2 separate regions of the Homo sapiens genome follow, and region 1 is linked to region 2. The links are contacts of gene promoters, found by promoter capture Hi-C in blood cells and fetal thymus (Javierre and others, 2016). All regions are on one chromosome and are shown on one strand. Each heading gives the region's core, a stretch centred on a gene start or on the middle of the fragment in contact. The rest is flanking DNA. Distances are from core to core; before and after follow the strand shown.

What was found. Contacts are between HindIII fragments. The CHiCAGO score rates a contact against its expected background, and 5 or more counts as called.
Region 1: a fragment that was not itself captured here is called in contact with the fragment with the promoter of CEACAM7 in region 2 in 2 of 17 cell types (M2 macrophages and neutrophils); the score reaches 6.5 in M2 macrophages.

What each region holds. Positions count from the first base shown.
Region 1 is chr19:41,455,001-41,460,717 of GRCh38, reverse strand. PCAT19 (prostate cancer associated transcript 19) reads left to right here. Exons shown (of 3, transcript NR_136334.1): 3 at 4,231-5,717. Among named protein-coding and RNA genes, the nearest start is that of ERICH4, 15 kb to the right of the region's middle. The HindIII fragment of the contact is 2,664 bases long and covers 500-3,163 here.
Region 2 is chr19:41,683,930-41,689,949 of GRCh38, reverse strand. It overlaps CEACAM7 (CEA cell adhesion molecule 7), which reads left to right and starts at 1,680. Exons shown (of 5, transcript NM_001291485.2): 1 at 1,680-1,848; 2 at 2,729-3,091; 3 at 5,887-6,020. The coding sequence starts at 1,785. The HindIII fragment of the contact is 5,666 bases long and covers 1,525-6,020 here.

The sequences.
Region 1 (5,717 bases), core at 582-3,081, 230 kb after region 2:
ATATGTATGGGGAAAGAGGACAGTGTAACTCCCGATATCGCAGAGTGTGTACACCCCCTTGTGATATTGTTTCTGATATACACGGGGAGAAAAGATAATATTTCTTCCAAAATTGCAGGGGGTGTACAACCCCCTGTGATATTGTTTTTAATATCCAGTGGGGGAGAGAATATTACTCCCAATATTGCAGGGCGTGTACACAACCCCTGTGATATTGTTCCTAATATCCAGAGTAGGGGAGGATGACATTACTTTCAATATCGCAAGGGGTGTACATTCCCCTGTGATATTGCTCCTAATATCCATGAGGGGAGAGGATGATATTATTCCTAATATGGCAGGGGCTGTACACCTTCCCTGTGATATTGTTTCTAACATCCAGTGGGGGAGAAAATGATATTACTCCCTATATCACAGAAGGTGTACACTTTCCCTGTGATATTGTTCCTAATATCCAGAAGGGGAGAGGATAATATTACTCCCAATATCGCAGGAAGCTTACAACTCCCCTGTGATATTGTTTCTAATATCCAGGGAGGTAGGGATGATATTACTCCCAATATCGCAGGGGATGTACACTCCCCCGTGACATTGTTTCTAATAACCAGGGGGTGAGAGGATGATATTACGCTTAATACCGAAGGGGGTGTACACACCCTTGTGATATTGTGCCTAATAGCCAGGGGGAAGAAAATTATATTAATTTTAATATTTATGGGGAAAAAGGATGATATTACTCCCAATATCACAGGGGCTGTACACCGACCTTTTGATATTGTTTTTAATATCCAGAAGAGAAGAGGATAATATTGCTCCCAATATCAGAAAAGGTGTAAACCCCTTCTGTGATATTGGTCCTAATATCCAGGGAGGGAGAGAATAATATTACTACCAATATCACAGAAGGTGCCCACCCCCAAGGTGATATTGCTCCTAATATCCAAAGATAATAGGGTGATGTTACTCCCAATATCACAGGAGGTGTTCACACCCCTTGTGATATTGTTTCTAACGTACAGGGAAGGGAGAGGATGATATTATTCCCAATATCACAGGAGGTGTATACTCCTCTGTGATATTGATTTTAATATTCGGGGGGAAAGGATGATATTACTCCCTATATCGCAGAGGGTGTACACCCTCTGTAATATTGATCCTAATATCCAGGGCGGGATAGGATGATATTACTCCCAATATCGCAGAAAGTCTACACAACCCCCAGTAATATTGTTTTTACTATCCAGGGGGAAGAGGATGACATTACTCCCAATTTCACAGAGTGTGTACACTCACCATTTGATATTGTTTCTAATATCTAGGGGGAGAGAATATATTACTCCCAATATCACAGGAATTGTACACCACCTCTGTGACATTCTTGTGAATATCCGGGGAAAAAGAGAATAATATTACTCCCAATATTGCAGAGCGTGTACACCCCTCCATGATATCGATACTAATATTTTTTTAAAGAGGATGATATTACTCCCATTGTCACAGGATGTGTACACCCCCCTTGTGAAATTGTTCATAATATTCTGGGGGGAGAGCATAATATTACTCCCCATATCGAAAAAGGTGTCCACCCTCCTTATAATATGGTTCCTAATATCCAGGATATTACTTAATCCAGGATACTTGTAATATCCTAAATATACAATTGCTTGAACCTCCACCTCCCAGGTTCAAGCAATTCTTCTGCCTCAGCCTCCCGAGTAGCTGGGACTACAGGTGCACACCACCACACCCAGCTAATTTTTTTTTCTTGTATTTTTAGTAGAGATGGGGTTTTGCCATATTGGCCAGGCTGGTCTCAAACTCCTGACCTTGTGATCTGCCCACCTCAGCCTCCCAAAGTGCTGGGATTATAGGCGTGACCCACCGTGCCAAGCCAGGAAGAGGATGCTCTATAGATTTCTCCAATAAGAGATGGCTTTGCAGGGCCATTCCAAAATATGTCAAAGAAATACATTTGGGGATAAAATACTTTGATTTCCTTTAGGGAATGTTATCTATTATGTGATGCTATACCAGAGTCAGGTTGGAGTCGGTTATCTTATTGCAACAAAGAGTCTGTTCCGTCACTGTTGGGATCTCTATTTTTTCCTCTTATTTCTTGAGACAGGGTCTCACTCTGTCACCCAGTCTGGAGTGCAGTGGTGCGATCTTCATTCACTGAAACCTCTGCCTCCTGTGTTCAGGTGATTCTCGTGCCTCAGCCCCTTAAGTAACTAGGATTACAGGTGTGCGCCACCACACCCAGCTAATTTTTGTATTTTCAGTAGAGATGGTATTTTGCCCTGTTGGCCAGGCTGGTCTTGAACTCCTGGCCTCGTGTCATCTGCCCACCTCGACCTCCCAAAGTGCTGGGACTGCAAATGTGAGCTATTGTGCCCAGCCAGGATCTCTGTTTTAATGTTAGTGCTGGTCACTTTGCATGAACTCCAAAGGGAAGAAATATAATGAGGTGTGTCTGACCCCCTGCCTTCTCATCGTGACCTGAATTAGTTTTTCAGGTTTGCAGGGGATACCCTTGGACAAGAAGGGGCTCTATTCGGTTGGTTGGGGGGATTAGAATTTTACTTTTTGTTTACAATATTTCTCCTGAAAGAGTTAGGGGCTCACAAGGAATTTCCGCGTGAGCAACTTATGAGGAAAGCCATCTGGGAAGATATGTGTCCTTGTGTCACTGGGATATTCTCGTTTACCCCAATGATACGGCAATGACGCAGGGTTGTGAAATTACAGCTATGTGTTTGGGGAAAAAAGAAAGCAGGATTGTGTGACTACGTTTCCAAACTTCACTTGCCCTTAGCCATAGTGAGTTGGGGGCCTGGAGATTCTGTTTTCTTTCACAATGATATAGATACAATTGAATGTATAGAAAGCAAAAAAATAAAAAGGTGAGTAATGAGGAACCTCTGATTCCTGAGTGGCCATGTAGTTACCCATGGCACAGAGCCACAGTTACTGAAGGTAAAGTTTGCTGGGGAATTTAGAAATGAATCCAACTCTTGGAGGAGTCAGTTTACTGGATGCCTAAGAAAATGCAAACAAAATAAGAAAAAAGGGTAATATTCAATCCCATAGTTATTGTTACCTGTCATAGCTAAAGTAAAATTAAAACAGAGTGCTGGCTTCAATCTTGATGCTACACTAAGCTTAGATTTCAGTGAATGTGAGTCTCAGCCACTAGCTCAGAGCCACCTCCCAAAGACCAAATCATGTAGGGACAATAGAAAGTACTTCTGAGAATTGTGGTTACCAAGAACCTAGTAACTGTTGGGGAGGAGCAAAACAAAGTACAGAAACCAGAGGGTACAATCTGAGTGAGACTGCTATCAGCTTCTGGAGGAGCCTTTACTAAAATGAATGATGAGAGTAACTGGATGATGAGAGTAACTAATGGATGATGAGAGTAAGCAATGTCTTTGGTTTTCTTTTTTTTTTTTTTTTTTTTTAGCAGACGTCTCACTCTTGTCGCCCAGGCTGGAGTGTAATGGCATGATCTCGCCTCACTGCAACCTCCACCTCCTGGGTTCAAGCAATTCTCCTGTCTCAGCCTCCCGAGTAGCTGGGACTACAGGCACTCATCACCACACCTGGCTAATTTTTGTATTTTTAGTATTTTCTGGTGAGGGTCCAGGTTTCCGGAAACAACTCAGAGACATATGTTAAGATGTTATCTTTAGTTTTCACAGGGAACCAAATATGTTACGACTCCAATTTCCTTGGCTATTGTTTTAAGTTACCATTACCTTCTCGTTGATCAAGTTGCTCATTTACTTCTCAAGCCTAGCTAGATGCCTGGAATTTCCCTTGAAGGAAGTCAAGATTTTCCTTTATCTCCATACTGGCTGATGGTGATCGAGTAAGCCCCTAAGAGGGGTCCCTGCTCCATCTCGAGATGCTGCTAGATTCTACAGTGCCTAATAAACAGCTCTCGCCTGGCCGACAAAGAGCTGCTTGCTCTCTGGATAGCAATTCCAAAGTGAACAGACAACATCCTGTTTGGAAGACTGCCACTCTGTTAGAAGAAGCATCAGGAAAACCTTTCTTTTGAGCTATTTATAACTAACAGCAATTGACCAAGTATACTTTTGTGAGTGAAACTGACCTTTCTCCCTGTAAGAATTCTCCAAAATTTGGAAACTATTTGTGAGTATTTTTACTTATGGCAATATAATTATTGGCACAAGCTCAATCAGATTCGGTTTTCTTTCGTAACAGGAACCATTGGAGATACTCATTACTCTTTGAAGGCTTACAGTGGAATGAATTCAAATACGACTTATTTGAGGAATTGAAGTTGACTTTATGGAGCTGATAAGAATCTTCTTGGAGAAAAAAAGACTGGGTATATTTTCAATATGCTTTCCTTTTAAGGTCCCTCACCTGTGGAAAGTAAAGAATGTCACTTTCTGACAGGCTCAGGAACCTCAAGTTATGTAGGGATCTCAAGAAGATGGGGGAATTCACCCAGTTCATACAGGTGAAATTGCTGTTGCAAAGATTATGAATATGAGAGAAGTCCAGCATGGCTGACTTCATCTCGTGTCTGGCCTCAGGCTGGCTGCCCTTGCTCACTCTTGGGCATAGGCCAAGCTAGCCATGGGAGGAATTTAGTTTATAGTTTAACTTTGAAGCACGGATGATAATAGTCTCTCCCTAAAATGAACCCCTTCCTTGCTCAGGGACTGAAACTACCTTTGTATGACAAATGAAAGCCCACAAGATTAAGATTATGAGAGGGGCCTGAATTCTGCTAAAATGCAGGTGTAGCTGACTGATAACAAGTCATTGTCCCACAGCTTGCCTTTCTATAATCTCTTGCTTCTCAGGAGTCACATGGCCAGAGGTCCTGAGATTTCCAGTCCTGTGACCCCCACCCAGAGATGGACTTAGTGCATGAGGACCATTTTCCACACCCCTATGATTTCATCCTCAAACAATCAGCAGCAACCATTCCCTAGCCCCCTGCCTTCCAAATTATCCATAAAAATCCTAGCCTCTGAGTTATTAGGGAGATTGATTAATAATCCCAGTCCTACCCCTTGGGTTGCTCTGATTTAATTAAACCTTCTCTACTGCAATACCACGGACTCAGTAAATTGGTTTTGTCTGTGCAATGGGCAAGAAGAACATGTTGCATGGTTATACAGGTACTACAAGCACAGTCTGATGGCAAATTATTGGTTTTGCTTCCTGCCCTTGATGTTTCTAAACATCTAGTCCAAAATTACTTGTGAAAGGTCCAGCAAAGCCAATTTTAAAAGAGGCTATATGGCCAATCACTATTCTTTCTACACATTATTGCAAATAATCAGGCCACGGCTGGGCACGGTGGCTCATGCCTGCAATCCCAGCACTTTGGGAGGCTGAGGCAGGATCACCTGAAATCAGGAGTTCAAGACCAGCCTAGGCAACATGATAAAACCCTGTCTCTACTAAAAATACAAAATTAGCCAGGCATGGTGGCATGCACCTGTAATCCCAGCTACTTGGGAGACTGAGGGAGGAGAATCACTTGAACCTGGGAGGCAGAGATTGCAGTGAGCTGAGATCACACCACTGCACTCCAGCCTGGGCAATAGAGTGAGACTTTGTCTCAAATAATAATAATAATAATCAGACCAAGTATAATGAAATTAAAATTTATTTTGCAAATAAATTGGTCCTACTACAATTTATCCTTCATAGAAATGTGGAAACTGAAG
Region 2 (6,020 bases), core at 431-2,930:
CTTTGTATAACTTTTGGCTTCCCAACAATTGAACCACTAAAACCCTACTCTTGACCAGAAGCCTTATTGTTAACATAAACGGTAAATCAATGTATTTTGCATGTTTATTTATATTATATACTGTACTCTTACAATAACATAAGCTGGGGAAAATAAAATGTTACTATGAAAATCATAAGGAAGATAAAACATATTTACTATTCATTAAGTGACAGTGGATCATCATAAAGGCTTTTATCCTTTTTTTGTCTCCAGGTTAAGTAGGCTGAGGAGGAGGAAAGGAGAGGGTGGTCTTGCTGTCTCAGAGATGGCAGAGGTAGAAGAGGTGGAGGGGAGGCAAGAGGAGGGGACACACTCAGTGCAACTTTTAATTTAAAACATCTGCATGTGGCTGGGCATGGCAGCTCATGCTTGTAATCTCAGCACTTTGGGAGGCTGAGGTGGGTGGATCATTTGAAGTCAGGAGTCTGAGACCAGCCTGGCCAACATGGTGAAACCCCGCCTCTACTAAAAATACAAAAATTAACCAGGCGTGGTGGCGGGTGCCTATAGTCCCAGCTACTTGGGAGGCTGAGGCAGGAGAATCACTTGAACCCGGGAGGTGGAGGTTGTAGTGAGCTGAGATCGTGCCACTGCACTCTAGCATGGGCAACAGAGTGAGACTCTGTCTCAGGAAAAAAAAAAAAGCAAAAAACAAACAAACAAAAAACAAAAAACAAAAATCAAACAAACAAACAAACAAACAAAAAAACATCGACATGTAAGTGGACCTGTGTGTTCAAATCTGTGTGTTCGAAGGTCAGCTGTAATTCCCCTGGACATGAACTTGGCCTTGCTAAGGTGGTGAAGGTGGAGCCTGGTTTCCATTCCTTGCTCCAACAGACCCTTCTTGTCTTTCACGCGTTCCTGCTGTGTCCCACCTCTTCCTTCCTGGGGCCTTTGAAGACCCCGCTCTGCCAGGGGTTTCTGTGCAGCTCCCCATTCCCTCCTGGCACCACCCATGGGGAAGGCGGGGTGACCACAGGACTGTCAGCCAGACAGAGGCTTCCAGGTCAGGTAGAACATGGAAAGGACCTGAGCCACAGCACATCCAAAAGACAGGGAGAGGGAGGGTTTCCTTGAAGCCTTCCCCAAGGACAGCAGAGCTCAGAGCCACACACCTCCCTCCACCACAGCTCTCTTCCCAGGACACACCAGACACCTCCCTCCACACCCAGGAGCTGTAGCTCCTCCTGAGACCCCTGGGCCTTGGTTTCTGTGCCTGGGTCACTGGAGACAGAGGGCTGGTCCCTCCCCAGTCATCCCCCAGTGAGCCCCTTTCTATCCCCCAGAGCCACCTCTGTCACCTTCCTGCTGGGCATCATCCCAGCAGAAACCCAAGGCCCAGCTGGGTTTCTCTGTCACAAGGGAAATAATCCCCCTGGTGTGACAGACCCAAGGCCAGAACACAGCATAGGTCAGCACTGGGAAAGGTTGGTTGTCCTCCCAGGGGACAGGGGTCCATCAGCCTTGCTACTCAAAGCTTTGTATCGGGAACTGAATATAGACAAAAGGGAAAGAGGAAGAGGGACAAAAGAGGCAGGAATGAGAGGGGAGGGGACAGAGGACTCCTGAGCAGAGACCCCACCCCTGGACCATGTGATCTTGGAAAGTGCTCCTGCCCTGGGAGGAGGCTCAGCACAGAGGTAGGAAGGACAGCAGAGCTGACAGTCACAGCAGCCCTGACAAGAGAGTTCCTGGAGCCCAAGCTCTTCTCCACAGAGGACAAGCAGGCAGCAGAGACCATGGGGTCCCCTTCAGCCTGTCCATACAGAGTGTGCATTCCCTGGCAGGGGCTCCTGCTCACAGGTGAGGGGAGGACTTCCTGGGAGTGGGTGGGAGGAGGGCCAGAGAGACTGGCTGGGGTCTCCTTGGGAGGACGGGGCTCTGAGAGGGGACAAAGGGCTTCTGTTGAAGTCCTTTGGGAGAGGACACCAGACAGGGACAGGAAACCAGAACAGGAAAATCACATTGGACTGGAATTGGAAAGGGTCAAGAAAATCTCACATGTTCTCTTTTCCTGGTTAATCATCACTAGCTGCTACATTTTGAAATATGATAATAATAACTATATCATGTGACGCTTCAAATAAAAACATAACCAGGGCATAAAACATTGTCCCTAGCCACCAACCTCAGGCATTGGAAAATAAACCCCAGGATGTGGAGGGAGGGCCCTGGGAACTCTCATGAACTCATCTACTGGAGCCTGCAGCCTGTTCCAGGCACTGGGGTGCAATCCAGTTCACACAAGTCCCTGCCCTCACAGAGCTCACGCTCTCATGCGGCAGAAGACAGACAGGCAAAGAGATCTAGAATGTGAAGCCAGGTGTTGACAAGAGCTCTAAAGGGAACAGAGCAGGGAAATGTCAGAAACGGAACACCCAGGGCTTCTAGAGAAGGTGTCAGGGAAGGGGTCTCCCAAGGATGCCCTGATGTAAGCAGGTCCAGCAGTATGGAGGGAGCCCTGCAGATCCCTGGGGAAGAGGATTCCGAACAGGGAAATGTAAGGTCAGAGGTGCTGATAGGGGACATGCTGCTGACATTGATCCAGTAGGACACACACACACACACACACACTTACTTCAAGATGGGGGTGGGTGAAGAGACCTGCTCAGGATCCAGGGCCCCATCTTTCCACCCCAATACATAGGTCCCAATATTGACTGATGTTCTCTCCCCCTCCTAGCCTCGCTTTTAACCTTCTGGAACCTGCCAAACAGTGCCCAGACCAATATTGATGTCGTGCCGTTCAATGTCGCAGAAGGGAAGGAGGTCCTTCTAGTAGTCCATAATGAGTCCCAGAATCTTTATGGCTACAACTGGTACAAAGGGGAAAGGGTGCATGCCAACTATCGAATTATAGGATATGTAAAAAATATAAGTCAAGAAAATGCCCCAGGGCCCGCACACAACGGTCGAGAGACAATATACCCCAATGGAACCCTGCTGATCCAGAACGTCACCCACAATGACGCAGGAATCTATACCCTACACGTTATAAAAGAAAATCTTGTGAATGAAGAAGTAACCAGACAATTCTACGTATTCTGTGAGTGATACCTCCATGACTTCTGGGTGCTGGGGGCCAGTTCTACTTCATACACACGGGGTTGTCAGGCCTGGGTTGTGCCTGTGTCCCCATCTACATTTTATCCAGTGTTGGAGTTTGGGCATTTAGTGAAGGACACACATGGGGGAGACAAACTTCTACAGACCAGAATCCCTTTCCTGCATCCAGACCCTGCAGATACTTGCTGCAGAGGAAGGACAGTCTGATGGGGGGCACTCAGCAGGGGGAGATCAGTCTCAGCCAAGATTCTGTGCCCTCCCCCTGAAAAAGACCCTGGAGAACTGGGTCAGAGCCTGGCCTGAGGAGTCCCCTGGAATCCTCACAGAGAAGCTCAGCCCTGGAAGCACAAGTCCCAGATCCCTGTCCCAGGGCTCTTGACTCCAGGTGACCCTAAGGAACCTGTGTCAGGGCTGGGTTGTGGCCTCCTGGGCTGAACTGACTGAGAGCAAGGATTTGAGCTGTTTGAGGATCATGGCTCATGGAGCTGGTCACCAGCCTGGTCACCCCCAGGGCCTCATCTGGGCAAGGACAGAGCCTCATCCTTCACCTGAGACTCAGCCTGGAGAGGACAGATGAACAGGATTACTAGGACCTCAGTCCCCCTGGATGAGGAACTTAAGAGAGGTCCTAGGGGAGTCAGTGTCCTCAGGGGGAGAAAAAGAAGAAGAAAGTTTCTGCTGTAAGTTCTTTGTACACCAGGAATCAGGTCCAAATAACCCACTCCTGGAGGCAAACAATCAGAGATCCTGCTTGTTTGGGCAGCTCTTCTACACAGGGCTCTCATCCAGGTAATTGTGATTATTTTAAGGTAAATTCACAGACAGCAAGGCAAGCCAGAGACCATTTACGCTTTATCTCATTTTGTTAAAGGAAACTGAGGCAGAAGGAAATACAGCCACTGAGGCAGGGTCTCACGGACCGGACAGTCACATCAGAGTCCCCAGGTCTTTGTAGCCACAGAGCTTGCTTCCTAGGCATCCAAGCCAGAAGTGGGAGATTCTGGTCTAGGGAGTGAGGAACAAATAGAGAATTAGTTTTTACCTAGAACTGAATCTCTTGCCTCAACTATCAGAGTCAGTGCTGGGAATGTCCAGGCCTCTCCCTTAGATTCACACTCCTACCCTCACTGGACCTGAAATCCTGTGTTTCCTGATGTGTTGGTGTCACTCCCACAGGAGGATAAAGGAGAAGACTTTGCTTTCTCTCCCCACTCACACCCTGCACATGCCAGGGCCCAAAGTGAGAAACACACTCGCTCAGTAGTTCTCTCATGAAGGAGGGAGGGAATGAATGAAGGAATGAATGATCCATAATCTCTTCAGAGACTGGAACCTGATGCAGGATCCTAGGAGGCTCTGGCACCTGTTCCCTGTCCCTCCAAGGGACTGAGACCCATGTTCCACCTCTCTCATCCCCTGCCCCTAAAGCCACCCCAGTGGGAGACTGAGACAGGAGGGTGTCTTGAGCCCAGGAGTTCAAGACCAGCCTGGGCAACATAGCAAGATCCCTGGATCTTAAAAAAAAAAGAAGCCACCCAGGTGTTGAGTCTCATGACTGTGTAAATGCTTGGCCATGGGACAGGGATGAGCAACTCCTCTATCTGCTCTCTACACTGACTCACCAGGGGGCCAGAGGCAGGACAGGTGTGCAGTCCCCAAAGCCCATGGGTTCATTCCACCCATTTTACTACCAACTCCATCCTCGTCTCGCTGTGGGGCTAAGGTCCTCCAGTCATTCCTGGGACCTCCTCCAGGTGCAGCGGCCTAGGCAGGTGCTGTCTGATGGGTTTGCTGTCCATTCCGCATACACCTGTGTCCTCATGATGACACCATTGTCATAAGGTGGGGTCCCTTGGAATGGGAACTGCACCAGCCACTGGCATCTCACTTAGACTCTGCCTAGTTTAGATGAATTTGATCAAACTCTTGTTGTGTTTCCGTAGGTCGAGAGAAAAGGAAGAAAGCATTTCTCATGCCTGTGTTGGGATTTCCTCCATTTTGCTGACTGCACAGGAGCTGGGGACAGGGAGCTCTTTGTAAATTTCCTAACATAACACACATCTCTTCTCCTAATTTGTCTTCATTGTTCTTGTTATGTCATTGAGAATCCTCAGATTTTCAGCCAGCCCCTGCTTGTCTCACTCACCCTTTCTCTATCTTCTTCTGGACTCTGCTGCACTTTCCTGGCGGTCACTAGCTCTTGTCAGTCACCATCAAACACCCGGGTAGAGCTGCCCCACCTGGAGGCCCTGCAGTCTGAGTACTAAACTCACCTCTAGACTTTTTCCTGGTCTCCTCTGCTATGTCTGCTCAAACACCCATTGTTATCATCACCCATCTCTGGGATATCCTTGGAAAAAAAAGGCTCAGAGAAACACCCCTTGGCTGGGTGGTGTAGGAGTGTTCAGCTGGAAGGAACTCAGCTCCTGCCCATTCGAGGTGAGGACCCCAAAGGGCCAGGTAGGCAGCCATCAGGAAAGGACCAGGAGAGGCACCAGTGGCTGTGATTGATGGTCCTGGGTCTGTCCATGGGCCAACGCTGCTGCACAATTTACACTTGAGAAAGTCTGTGCTTCTCTAAGACAAATCAGGCAGCCTCACAGTGTCTGAGCTCTCAGATCATTGTGCATCTGTCTTGTGATACACACACCTTCTGTGGGCTTTTAAGGACTTGAGTGGGCTTAGAGGTGGGAGATGCCAACTCTGATTGAAAGATGTCCGTGGGGGAACCAAGGGGCCACACAGGGCAATCTTTTCTCTCTCTTATCTGCACAGCGGAGCCACCCAAGCCCTCCATCACCAGCAACAACTTCAATCCGGTGGAGAACAAAGATATTGTGGTTTTAACCTGTCAACCTGAGACTCAGAACACAACCTACCTGTGGTGGGTAAACAATCAGAGCCTCCTG